Regions from separate parts of the Homo sapiens genome. Here all the other regions are linked to region 3. The links are contacts of gene promoters, found by promoter capture Hi-C in human tissues and cell types (Jung and others, 2019). All regions are on one chromosome and are shown on one strand. Each heading gives the region's core, a stretch centred on a gene start or on the middle of the fragment in contact. The rest is flanking DNA. Distances are from core to core; before and after follow the strand shown.

Region 1 (4,144 bases), core at 1,043-3,542, 210 kb before region 3:
ATTCAAATTGGTAATCACCATCAAATCATGTATTTTGGCTCTCTTGAAACCTGCTTATCTCTGTGATTTTCAGAACCACTGGTTAAAGGTTTAGGGAAAAGAAAAGGATATTTCTTAACAAGTCACATGTTGGTACCACCCATCGGCACACACAGGAGCTGCAAATACACATTTACATGACAACTCTTGAAATGTGGAAATCCGTGATGAATACAGGAAGAGTGTTTCCGTAAGTACACATTTCAGGTTTCCAAATAAGCTCCCAGTTGGTCCTAGAGGCTGCAGAGGAGCCTGTGCTGGTCCTGTGACCACTGCTGGGGACAAGAGGCAAGTTGGCTGAGCACAGAGCCAACGGGAGAAGGGCAGTATGCCAAACAGTTGGGACCGAGGCACCCCAGCAACATCGGCCCTGCTGTCCCTTTAATGAAACGGTTGTGTGGTGGCCGGTGAAGGCCATCACTGGAAGTCTCTATCGCCATAAACCACCAGGGACAGAGCAATGTGGCCTTTCCACTTCCCTGGGCAAAGCACTGCAGTCGTCCCAGGAGCAGAGCTACTGCTGGCTGCTTCTCTAGGTCGAGATGGAATCTACACACAGGCAAAACTGCCCACTACAGGGTACACTTAGATCTGAATGTGGACAAACATATACCACTGTCTACCACCTCCACAGCAAGGAACAGGACACTTCCATCTCTCATGAAGTGCCTTTGTGCCCCCTTGCAGCCCATCCCCTCCCCATACAGCCCCCAGCAACCACAGACATGATTTTTGCCCCTTTTCCAGGATGGCAAGGATATATGGAATACACAGTATGCAGCCTGGCTTTTGAGACTGGCTTCTGTCACCCACCATAATGTTTCTGAGACTGATCCATGTTGCTATCTACGTCAGAAGGTCACTCTTTCTTACTGCTAAGTAGTATTCGATTGTGTAGTTATGCCACTATCAGAAGTTCACTCTTTCTTACTGCTAAGTAGTATTCGACTGTGTAGGTATACCACTATCAGAAGTTCACTCTTTCTTACTGCTAAGTAGTATTCGATTGGGTAGTTATACCACTCTTTGGTTTATCCATATTCTTCCTGCTGAAGGTTGCTTGGGTCATTTTCAGTTTGGGGGAATTATGAATAAAGAAGCTATAACGTTCATCTATTGGTCTTTTGTGGGGACATAAGCTTCCATGACTCTTCGGTGAATACCTAGGAATGGAAATGTTAACTGTACGTTTAACAAAACTGCCGAACTGCTACCCAAAGTGACTGGACAGCTGTGCACTGCCATCAGCAACGTATGAGACTTCCCTGTCCTGCATGCTCCCAGCACTTAGTATTGCCAGGGTGTTTTGTTCTGTTTTGTTATTTTTAGCCATTCTACTTAGTGTAGCAATATTGCATTGTGATTTTAATTTGCATCTTTCTAAAGTCTAATAATACTGAAAATCTTTTCTTATGACTATTTGCCATCTGTATGCCTTCTTGAGTAAAGTTTGTTCCTTTTTTTTCTTTTTGAGACAGGGTCTTGCTTTGTTGCCCAGGCTAGAGTGCAGTGCCACAATCATGGCTCACTGTGGCCTTAACCTCCCAGGCTCAAGTGATCCTCCCACCTCAGCCTCCAGAGTAGCTGGAACTACAGGTACGCACCACCACACCTGGCTAATTTTTGTATTTTTTGCAGAGACAGGGTTTTGCCGTGTTGCCTAGGCTGGTCTTGAATTCCTGGGCTCAAGCGATCCTCCCACCTTGGCCTCCCAAAGTGTTGGGATTACATGTATAAGCCACAGCGCCTGGCCTGTTCCCTTTTTAATATATTTTTTAAAAAATCAAACGTATAATAATGACTAGTTTTTACAATGCAAGAAAATTAATTTTCAAATATTTGACAAATCGATCATACATTAAAATCAGCACATATATAGTTAACTATTTCTGCTCTATCAGTTTTGTAATTAAAAACCTCTCTTCTACTTCTTCAAAACATTAGGTTGTTTTGGGATAGCCAAATGGCAGAAAACTTTAGGTAGAAACTGAATATAAGCATGCTTTCTTCCAAACATATTAATTGCTTCATTCACAAAATCCTCATTTTTGAACCAGGTATGAAGCTATGTTCCTAACTTCCTCTAAATTCAGGCTCACTCCACTCAGAAACTAAGCTACCAAAGACAAATGCTCAGCATACATGTGCCTGGACATCCCTTCACTCCCCTGAGGGACTGCCTGGCAGACGGAGGGCCAAGCATGTACCTACTGAGGGACTCAGTGCTTGGGCACAGGGCACTGGAACTGGGGCACTAGGAGGAGGGGGTGAGAGGTATCCTGAACGCAATATCCAAAGGGCATCTTCAAGGACAGGTAGGAGGCTGGCCAGATTAAAGGTGAGGCCAGGAAAATAATTCCAGGCACAGGGAACAGCACTGGCAAAAGGAAGGTGTGTCCACATGGCAACCCTGGGGCCCTGAGAGAAGTCAGCTGGGAATGGAACACAGAACACAGGGAGCAAATGGCAATGAGGGAGGGCAGATGCTGAGAAACTGGGAAGGCTAGGCCTGCATCCTGAAGGGTGTCAGGCTTGGGGACTGGTGGGGCTCAGAAGGCTGGCGGGGGTGGGGACATCCTGGAAGGAAGAATTGAGAGCAGCCTCCAGAGAATGGGGCTGCTCAGTGGAACCCAGGGCATGCGAGCCAAAAAAGGGAGCTGCCCATCCTCCAGGTGGAGGATGCGGGGACAAAGGTCGTGGGAATCCCTGGCTCCCAGACAGGTTTCTCTGCATACAGCACCCCTGCCTTCTCCAGGCTGTGCCCACCTTGGGAAAGAGAACCTCCTTCCTTTTCTTTTTTTTTTTTTGAGACAGTTTCGCTCTTGTTGTCCAGGCTGGAGTGCAATGGTGCGATCTCGGCTCACCACAACCTCTGCCTCCTTGGTTCAAGCGATTCTCTTGCCTCAGCCTCACGAGTAGCTGGGATTACAGACATGCGCCACCACGCCCAGCTAATTTTGTATTTTTAGTAGAGACGGGTTTTCTGCATGTTGGTCAGGCTGGTCTCAAACTCCCGAACTCAGGTGATCTGCCCACCTCAGCCTCCCAAAGTGCTGGGATTACAGGCGTGAGCCACTGTGCCCGGCTGAGAACCTCCTTTCTAGGGTCCTCCGGAGGCCGCTCTCCTGCCTCCCAGGGATGGACCTTGGGGGCCACATCCCTCACAATCAAGCTCTGCCTCCAGGGAATCCACTCCCTTCCCCATGCCCTTCCCCGAGCCCAGGACTCGCCCTGCCGCCTGCCCTCCTCCAGGCTGCACTCACTCCCTCTCAGTGAGCCAGGCTTCTAATCGTTCCTCTGAGAACCCAATGTCAGCCAAGCCTCAGTTTTAAAGTCAGCTAGGATGAGGTGGCAGCTGGAATCTCAACCATCCCTGTGCAGAAACATCCGTGCAATCAGGAGCAGAGAAAGGGGCTCTACCTGAAACCCAGCAGCTTATTGTCACAGGCGTGCTGGGGGGACTATCCAAAGAGGCCACGTCAGCTCCTCCTCCATCCTGCATGCATCTGTTGTAAACAGTCCAGAGGTGCCTTTCACAAGGACGCTGGAGAAGGTCTGCTGTGCAGACACAGGACCATGCCAAGCTCTGTGGTGCTCCCAACCCCTAATACCTTCAGACTCTGGGCCCTAAGAGGGTGTGGACCTGTGTCTTCCTAATCCACCACTCTTTCTCCATTGCTTTCCACAGGGTCTACCGCACAGCAGGCACCCCATACAAATGTGAGGTAAAACCATAACATGACCAGAAGAAAATGAACGCGAATACCTTTGTGACTTACGGCATGGCTCCTTAAACAAAATTTTTCTTTTTCTTTTTTTTTGAGACGGAGTCTAGCTCTGTTGCCCAAGCTGAAGCGCAGTGGTGCCATCTCGGCTCACTTGCAACCTCTGCCTCCCGGGTTTAAGCGATTTTCCTGCCTCGGCCTCCCGAGTAGCTGGGATGACAGCAGGCAGAGCACACAGAGACACCTCTGTATGTGGGTGCCCAGAGGGATGTGCCTGAGAACAGCAAGGCAGCTCTACGCCTGTGGACTGGCAACCACCAGAGAGTGGGAAAGGCCAAGTGTGGGCAGAGGTGGGTGTACAGCACCCTTTACTGGATATA
Region 2 (4,290 bases), core at 924-3,423, 150 kb before region 3:
CAAACGGGTCTCAAAGGACTAACACTGTTTAAAAAGAAAAAAGGAAGGCGTATTTTTACTTATTGGCATAAATCTCATACCTGTAAAAATGCTTTGGTTTGAAGTTATGAAACCTCTTTGCTGTTTTCATAAATACAGCATTTAAAATTCATGCAGAATTCAGTAGGATGTTTTACTGACAAGAAGGAAGGGATCTGAAGAAAGAGATATTCAGAGCTACAAGAGCAAAGACAAAACTGATGGGCCCGATTAAGGTCGGACAGACATACTATATACCTTGGGGGTTTCTAGAAACCTTTCCTATGCAATCTTAAAAGTATTTGAAACACACACTTCACAGTAGGTAACATCCTAACAAGAAAGCATGTTTTTCTGTGAGGCACAGGCTGCACCAGCACAGTATTTTCTGGAGGACGGAGAGAGGATGCTGCCTTTTTAATGGCAATCAGTAATCCAGTAAGTATAATTCACTGAGTGATGGGTCACTTAAGTATCAGGATTTTAAAAATCTAATTAGAATTACAGCACCACAGCAATAAAGGGGAGCCACTGTTTTTCAAAAATTCCAGAATATGACTTCTAAGAAACAATTGAATACGTACATAAGGCTGCTCAGTTATTAAAACAATAAGACTTTTACATTTTGTTACCCGACAAAAATATAAACAGTGTCTAGTGACAGCCCTCAGAGGGGGACGAGGGCACAGGGTCCAGCTGGGATGAGAAATGAGAAGAACTGAGGGGGAGGATGGGAAGGTGGTCGGGAGGGGTCCTGGAGCGGTGGCAGGTGATCAGAGACTCTGCAGTAAACAGTCATGAAACAGCAATTACAGTCTCCTGGAAAAGATAATTTGCTTTCTCTCTCAAGTCCCACTTATGTGTTTGTAGATTAGATTTGGCTGTAAAGAAAGAAAATGGCAGCATGTAATAAACATTAACGCCTTAAAGTAGGGGGAAAAGCCCTCTATTAACAGCTAACTCAAGTAACTCATTTAGCTACTCGGTAAGAAAAAAATACAGCTAAAGTATGTCAGCTACTCTAAAACATGCCAAAGCAAAGGTGCAAAGTTATTGCATCTATTTTGAAAGGAAACACGCACGTATGTTCTAAAACCAGAGTCAAAAATTACAAAACACAATCCTTCATTTGTTTAAGCCGAAATCTATTCTCCAAGAAAATCAAACACTTACTCTGACATCTTCTCCAAGCACCCTGGATAAAGCATTCTGCATTGCTCAGTTAATAATGAACTAATTGAACATTGCCGTCACGGAGCTCTAAAACTAGGTGCGCTTGCATAGAAGGTGAGAGTTCTGTTAAATCAGTCACTCAGTGAGAAAGAAAACAATTCCGTGAAAATTCTACTTTCAAAGAGGTCTACCTTAAAGGAAATGCAAGCCTTCCACAGCACACTCACATTTTTCTGTCAGATGCCGGCTAACTCTGCAGCTCAGCTTCCGTACCTGCCTCTTTCCAACCCTGCTGGCATGTCTGACCTCTGTCTCTCAGCTGAATTCTCCCAGCACATTTCATCATTTCCTGTTGGCTGCCGAGATAAGGTCATTCCCATACACTGCTGCATTCGCTGTACAGTCCCAGGTTCCCAGACTGCACGCTCCTGCCTGCTGTGGCCATCACAGAAGAGCTCTCTTTTCAGAAAGTGGCCAAAGAGAAATTTCAGTATTTCCACGGAAAATCAGGGAGAAGAGGTCTGAGAACAAAATTCATACTACCCCCTCCCCAACACACAAAAAATCAAATTATATACAAACTAACTTACACCATACATGAGTCTTCTAATATCTTCTTGTATTTGGGATCCTCCTGCTTACAAGAGAAAAAAGACAGCATGCTCTCTCTGCATCTGAGGGGCGTCACAGCAGTCAGTGGGACAGGGACTTGCTTGCACAGGATAATCTTACACTGTCCCTACATGTGGAAGTCAACTTCCTTCTGTGACTACACACAACAAGGCAATGCCTGTCAGCAGATGAACAGGAAGCCTCATGCAGGAGACAGGACTGGGGACACAGAGTCCCCTGGAGACAGGCAGGTGACCCCATGGTCTCTCAGCAGCACGACTGTCTCCTAAGAACTAGGACACTCAAATACGCAACTGTGATTACATGGAAATAAAAACACCTCGCTTCTTCAATTTTTACAAAGAATTTAAAGTGAAGAAAAAAACAATAAAGCTTTAGGTGAGGAGAGAAAGATTTTAAAATGCTTGTGCCTACAAGAATACATGCTGTACGATTCCCTTTGGATCCAGCACAAGAAAAGGCGTAACTAATCTACACCCTTCGAAGCCGGGACAGGGAAGAGAAAGAGGAGGCAGGCAGGAAGGGGTGCCAGGAGGGTTTTGGAGCTGTGCTGTGGCTCTTAAACTGGCTATGGGTGTGCTGGGCTTGTGAAAATTCACTGATATGTACACTTGAGATCTGTGCACTTTAGGTATGCATATTATTCAATAACACTTTTTAAAATCTCATACAGTAACAAAAAATACAGACACTACAGGAAAGAGTAGATATGGAAACCAACCTGCAAAAACAGACAGGAAACAAATATTTCAAGGGATCAATTTCTGCTAGGTGCCCTCCTAGAAGATACACATGCACACTCCCCCATTCCCCTTGGCAAGCCAGGATCTAAGTGGTAATGGCCAGGGCAGGGCCAGTTCAGGGCGGTTCCTCCTTTCAACATGGCCCAAGCGGGTGTATGTAGGGATGGGAAAATACGTAATTGGCAAAAGAACATACTGCAAGGGGAAACTGTGCTAAGTGGATATACACTATTTACCAGTGTTCTTGCTACTCATATTCATTCAAAAATGTTCAGTTAAAAACAGCCATCTAGTCTTACCTTATAACACAAAACGAAGTAGGTTAAAAATCTCTTTTGAAAATCTTGTGTTTAGACAAACACTGCGGAAGGCCGCAGGGTCCTCTGCCTAGGAAAACCAGAGACCTTTGTTCACTTGTTTATCTGTTGACCTTCCCTCCACTATTGTCCTATGACCCTGCCAAATCCCCCTCTGTGAGAAACACCCAAGAATGATCAATTAAAAAAAAAAAAAAAAAAAAATCTTGTGTTTAGAAATTCCTTAGGCTGGGCCGGTGGCTCACACTTGTAGTCCCAGCACTTTGGTAGGCTGAGGCAAATGGATTGCTTGAAGCCAGGAGTTTGAGACCAGCCTAGCCAATATGGTGAAACCTCATCTCTACTAAAAAATACAAAAATTGGCCAGGTGTAGTGGCACATGCCTGTAATCCCAGCTACTCAGGAGGCTGAGGCACGAGAATCGCTTGACCCCAGGGAGCAGAGGTTGCAGTGAGCTGAGATCACGTCACTGCACTCTAGCCTGGGTGACAGAGCGAGATCCTGTCTCAAAAAAAAGAGAAAAAGAAATTCCTTAATGGAAAAATACCAATAAAAGCAAAGACCACATAACATGAGACTCTATTACTTGACATATGATAATAATTTACACTACTTGAGAAATTATTTACCACCCCTCCCCACACAGCCCGTCACCAAAAAAGCAGAGAAGTCAACACATATTTCACTATATCCTGTGGTTGGCTTAGTTAAATCCACGGCACCATCACAGAAGATGAACACCAGAGTGCCACGCCCGCCACAGCTGGCAAGCACTCACTCCACTAAGACAGAAGCAGCGCCTGAGTTCTGGGGAAGCAAGTTTGAGACCAGCCTGGCCAACATGGTGAAACCCCGTCTGTACTAAAAAATACAAAAATTGTCTACCTGTTCCCTCCCCCAAGCCAGGATACCAGAAAACTTTTTTTTTTTTTGTCCCAGAGCCCCACTTAGGGCTGCTGGTTATGGGAGGGCTTTTTGTTTAAAAGACTCACTCTCTTCTTTTAAATCCAACAAACACAGGCTGCTCAATAAACATTTACACAGCACTTACTTTATTTCTGGCTAATCATGAAAATAGCTCTTTGGGGGTAAGCATTGTTATCTTCATTTCCCAGATGAGAGGTTATGCAACTTGCTAAGTGTCCCACAGCTGGCGCAAGGAGAGCCAGCCTGTAAGCCAGGCTACACAACACTGCCCCTCCAACTTGACTTCCCTCAACGGTCAGAACTGGGTCTTGGATAGTTTCTGCTTAATAAAAAGCTGAACTTGGAAAAGGAGAAGAGGCCCAAGGCAGAACTGGGGGTGGGGGGTGGAGGGTGAGGTCTGGGGTAGGGGGTGAGGGCCACATCCAGCACAGGGCAAGGGAAGGCCAGCCCAGCAGCCATTCACAGTCCAAGTCACAGGG
Region 3 (4,606 bases), core at 848-3,347:
CAAAGTGCTGAGATTACAGGCGCAAGCCACCGCGCCTGGCCTAGTTTTTTAATTTTTAGTAGAGATGGAGTTTCGTCATGTTGGCCAGGCTGGTCTCAAACACCTGACCTCAGGTGATCCACCTGCCTTGGCCTCCCAAAGTGCTGGGGTTATAGGCGTGAGCCACCATGCCCAGCCATCTCTTCCTCCTTTTGATCAGCATATTGTCTTGGGATTTTGCAAAGTAAATAAGTACTGTATTTGCACCCACTCTGCCCTTGAATCATCCAGTGTCCCCAAACGGTCCTTCTTTCTCCATCTTTTCTGCTAATGTTTACTGAACATCTCCTACATACCTGGCACTGTGCCTCCAGCCTTAAGACCCCTCTGCAAGCATCTCACATATATCAGGTCTTTCGGACCCATGAGACCCCGTGTCATTGCTTTACCTCCCTGAGTCTCAATTTTTTCATCTGCAAAATGCATTCAGAGGGAAGCCCCCATTATGAAGGGTTCCCTGCTCCTGACTGTAAGGCACTCTGTGGCTGTTAGCCACAGTCAGGGCGAGCTGCTTTGTAGGGGTTGATGTAGTTTGGAGGCCCTAGAAGAAAAGACTACAGGGCCGGGAGTGGTGGCTCACGCCTGTAATCCCAGCACTTTGGGAGCCCGAGGCCGGTGGATCACCTGGTGTCAGGAGTTCAAGACCAGCCTGGCCAATATGGCAAAACCCCGTCTCTACTAAAAATACAAAAACTAGCCGGGCATGGTGGCACACGCCTGTAATCCAGCTACTAGGGGGGCTGAGGCGGGAGGATTGCTTCAACCTGGGAGACAGACGTTGCAGTGAGCCAAGATTGTGCCACTGCACTCCAGCCTGGGCAACAGGGCTAGACTCTGTCTCAAAAAAACAAAAACAAAAACAAACAAAAAAACCCCACAAAAGCAAAGAAGGTCCAGAGCCCGGAAGGCGGGAGGGGCTCTGAAGACTTTATCACACTTTACCTCCTCTGTTCCTCCCAACAGCCCAGCTCTTGGTAGGTGCTGTTGTCCATTTCACAGATGAGAACATTGAAGGGGAAGTAATTACCCTAGAGGTGGGAAGAACAGAGTGAGGGTACCCAACAGGTAGCAAACGACAGAGCTGGGGGAGGGGAACCCCTGTCCCTGCCCCTCCCCTAATCTCTGAGGGGATCAAGACAGAAGTAAACAAGCTTTGCCGTGCCCAGGACAATTGTTACTTTGTTATTCCAGGAGCGCTCTGCCTTCTCCCACCCCCAATATACCCCAGGGCTGGAGTTAGGTCCTACCCATCCCCGCGTAGCAGGCTGCCCACCCGCCCACCCCGCCTGGAAGCTTTCTGATTTCTCTGTTCGCCCCGCCAGGCGCTGTGGGGTCCGTCTCACCAGGTCTGCACGTGAGCCCCCTGCCCCCAATCCCTCCCAGTCCCGCCCGCCTCTCGCGGACCCGGAGCCCCGACGGGAGGGGGAAGGCAGTGGGTGTGTCATGCAGCTGGAAGGCTGCGGACGGGCGGCAGTGGAGGGGCAGCCCCCTGGCTTCGGGTATGGATCACTGGATGCTGCTGCTAACCAAATGTGAACCTCGGTTTTCATATTTGTGAAATAGGCTTTAAAACACCTAAATCCCAAAGCTGCCAGCCTAAGGAGCACACGTCTTTGAACGCTGGCTTCACGCTGTCATTTAAGTCATTTCGTCCTCTTGGAGCCTCGGTTTCCACGTGGGTAAAATGATCGTGAAAAAAAGCACCGAGGAGTACTTTGAGCTCGAACGGAGGCCATCCGTGTAAAGGGCCAGATTCTGTCAATGGATCGATCCCCCCGATATTGATGGAAACCCCTGAGTGCACGCCCGTGCTGGGCGCAGGGGAAACAGCGACGCACGGGACAAAACAAGCTTGCAGAACAGCAGGGGGCAGAGAGGCTGTAAACAAGCCAACGGGCTGCACTTGTAGCGGTTCTGTTGCCAATGCCATTCAGACCCCAGTCCGGGATTCCGCGCTCGGGGTGCGAGAGGCCGCTCCCGGGGAGGGGCGGGACCCGGGCGGGGCGGGAGGGGCGGGGCGCCCGGGCCTATTAGGTCCCGCGCCGGCAGCCGGGCCGCAGACACGAAGCCTCCCGGGTGGCTTACAGACGCTGCCAGCATCGCCGCCGCCAGGTGAGTGCCCCCGACCCTGCTGCCGCCCGCTGCTCCGCCCAGCTCGAGCCCGGCGGTTAGCGCCCAGGCCGCGGCCCGGGTGCCGAGCGGCTGGAAGTGTGGGGAGCCGTGCCCAGGTTTTACCGCTCCAGCAAGTCGCTGGCGGGGCGACGTCTCGGGACTCCGGCTCCGAAACGTACCCTCTCTGTCCGGGGCTCCAGGTCCCCGACGGGCGATCGTGCCAGGCGCGGCCCCTGCGGGCCTCAGTCTCCGCGCCTGTGCAATGGGGTGGTCCCTCTGCGTCTCGCCGCGACGGCTGGACGCCCCATCGCCGCCGCACAGTCCTCCAGTGCGGCTTCCGGGCACCCGGCTCCGAACTCTGGGGTCGTGCGGACCCGGCCAGACCGTAGCGCGGCAACGCCAGCCCACGGCCGCGGCCGCACAGCCCCGGTGCCCTTAAAAGAGGGAAGATGGCGTCGTGCCCGGTGCCGCCGGGACCGGCTCCCGGAGGCGCTGCGCACCTGAGGAAGGGCCGAGGAAAGGCTTCGTAACGGGACGCCCAGAAAGTCCGGAACAGGAACGTGCACACGGAGCGGCGCGCAGCCGCCCGCCCTCGCTTGCCCACGCGCCCTGCACAGGTGCGCCCCAGACTGGGCGGGGACTAGAGCCCGGCTGGGGCATGCGACCTTGTTTGGTAAATTGGAGGTGCGCCCCTGCGGGTGACCCGCGAGGGGGCCCCCCGCCTGCGGGGCGCGGTCACGACAAGGCTTGTGGGGTTCGGAGCTGGTCGTCGTCTGGGCTCTGGCCTCCTAAATGCGATCGCTTTCAAGCCCTTCATTGTCAATTTTGCTAGAATGAGCCACTCGTGGGGTAGGACGTGGTTGTTGATGTTACTGTTGTAGCTCTTACTATTGTAACATTTTTGTTGCTGTTTTAACGCAGTGTTTACTGTGGTCTGGGAGCCCGAGCTTCCCAGGGAGCATTGGTGTCAGCCTCATGTCCCCGCATTAGGAGGAGCGCAGTCTGGTGGGCACTAGCGCCGGGAAGTTCTTAACATCTGTCTGCCCCTGGGAGCAGGAGGCCTCATCTTCCAGGTGGAGAAACAGAGATTTCAGTCCCAGGAGGCACAGAAATGCCAGGGTTGTCTAGCTAGAAGCCAAGGGCCCTTTATGGAACCCAAGCCAAAACCTCTTTCCACTCTCCAGCCCTGTGGCCTCGGAAGGGCCACTCCATCTCTCTGAACCTCAGTTTGTTCTGTTCACTCTGCAAAATGTATCCCTGAGGTTTCTGGCCAGGTGAAAGCCCCTCTCAAGTTAGTAGCCTCCCTGGAGTTAAGACTCACCCCGATTTCTACTTAATTTGGGCACGCCTTTGGAATAAGTTCTCAGGAATGGCACAGTTTGGGTGTTTTTTGTTTCTTTTTGTTTTTTTTTGAAACAGAGCTTCGCTCTTGTTGCCCAGGCTGGAGTGCAATGGCGCCGTCTCGGCTAACTGCAACCTCGGCCTCCTGGGTTCAAACGGTTCTCCTGCCTCAGCCTCCTAGTAGCTGGGATTACAGGCGCCTACCACGAGGCCCAGCTAATTTTTTGTATTTTTAGTAGAGATGGGGTTTCACCATGTTGGCCAAGCTAGTCTCGAACTCCTGACCTCAGGCGATCCACCCGCCTCAGCCTCCCAAAGTGCTGGGATTACAGGTGTGACCCACCCCGCCCGGCTTGAGTGTTTAAATACTCCTGCCTCAGCCTCCCAAGGTGCTGGGATTACAGACGTGAGCCCCTATGCCTGGCCCTTTTTTTTTTTTTAATTGTCTTAAGGATGTTAAGACTAAGATTCTCACACATTTGACTCGTGCCTGTAATCCTAGCACTTTGGGAGGCTGAGGCAGGAGGATTGCTTGAGCTCAGGAGACTAGACTGGGCTAGACCAGACTGGGTAACATGGTAAAACCCTGTCTCTACCAAAAATACAAAAAATTAACCGGGCATGGTGGCATGTGCCTCTGGTCCTAGCTACGCAGGAGGCTGAGTTCAGAGGCCTACCTGAGCTTGGAGGGGTTGAGGCTGCAGTGAACCCTGATCATGCCACTGCACTCTAGCCTGGGAGACAGAGTGAGACCCTGTCTCAAAAAAAGGAGCATTAGGCTGGGCATGGTGGCTCACATTTGTAATCCTAGCACTTTGGGAGGCCGAGGGAGATGGATCACCTGAGGTCAGGAGTTGTGAGACGAGCCTGGCCAACATGGCAAAACCAGTCTCTTTTAAAAATGCAAAAATTAGCCGGTCGTGGTGGCGTGTGTCTGTAATCCCAGCTACTTGGGAGGCTGAGGCAGGAGAACTGCTTGAATCTGGGAGGCAGAGGTTGCACTGAGCGGAGATCACACCATGGCACTCCAGCCTGGGCCACATAGGGAGACTCTCTGTCAAAAGAAAATTTAAAAAAGCATCAAATGGTAGATCCCCAGTGTCTGTTACAGCTT

The links. Contacts are between HindIII fragments. The study calls those that stand out against the background at their distance.
Region 1: a contact is called between a fragment that was not itself captured here and the fragment with the promoter of BIK in region 3, in 1 of the 25 tissues and cell types used here (mesenchymal stem cells).
Region 2: a contact is called between a fragment that was not itself captured here and the fragment with the promoter of BIK in region 3, in 3 of the 25 tissues and cell types used here (IMR-90 fibroblasts, small bowel and stomach).

Annotation. Positions count from the first base shown.
Region 1 is chr22:42,895,445-42,899,588 of GRCh38, forward strand. The region is part of intron 2 of PACSIN2 (protein kinase C and casein kinase substrate in neurons 2); the gene reads right to left. Among named protein-coding and RNA genes, the nearest start is that of ARFGAP3, 40 kb to the left of the region's middle. RefSeq lists enhancers at 2,118-2,894, 2,895-3,669. The HindIII fragment of the contact is 4,261 bases long and covers 163-4,144 here.
Region 2 is chr22:42,958,381-42,962,670 of GRCh38, forward strand. The region is part of intron 1 of PACSIN2 (protein kinase C and casein kinase substrate in neurons 2); the gene reads right to left. Among named protein-coding and RNA genes, the nearest start is that of PACSIN2, 55 kb to the right of the region's middle. RefSeq lists an enhancer at 1,323-1,617. The HindIII fragment of the contact is 6,006 bases long and covers 1-4,290 here.
Region 3 is chr22:43,108,653-43,113,258 of GRCh38, forward strand. BIK (BCL2 interacting killer) reads left to right here and starts at 2,098. Exons shown (of 5, transcript NM_001197.5): 1 at 2,098-2,151. RefSeq lists silencers at 2,048-2,217, 2,748-2,967 and an enhancer at 2,165-2,723. The HindIII fragment of the contact is 22,290 bases long and covers 1,612-4,606 here.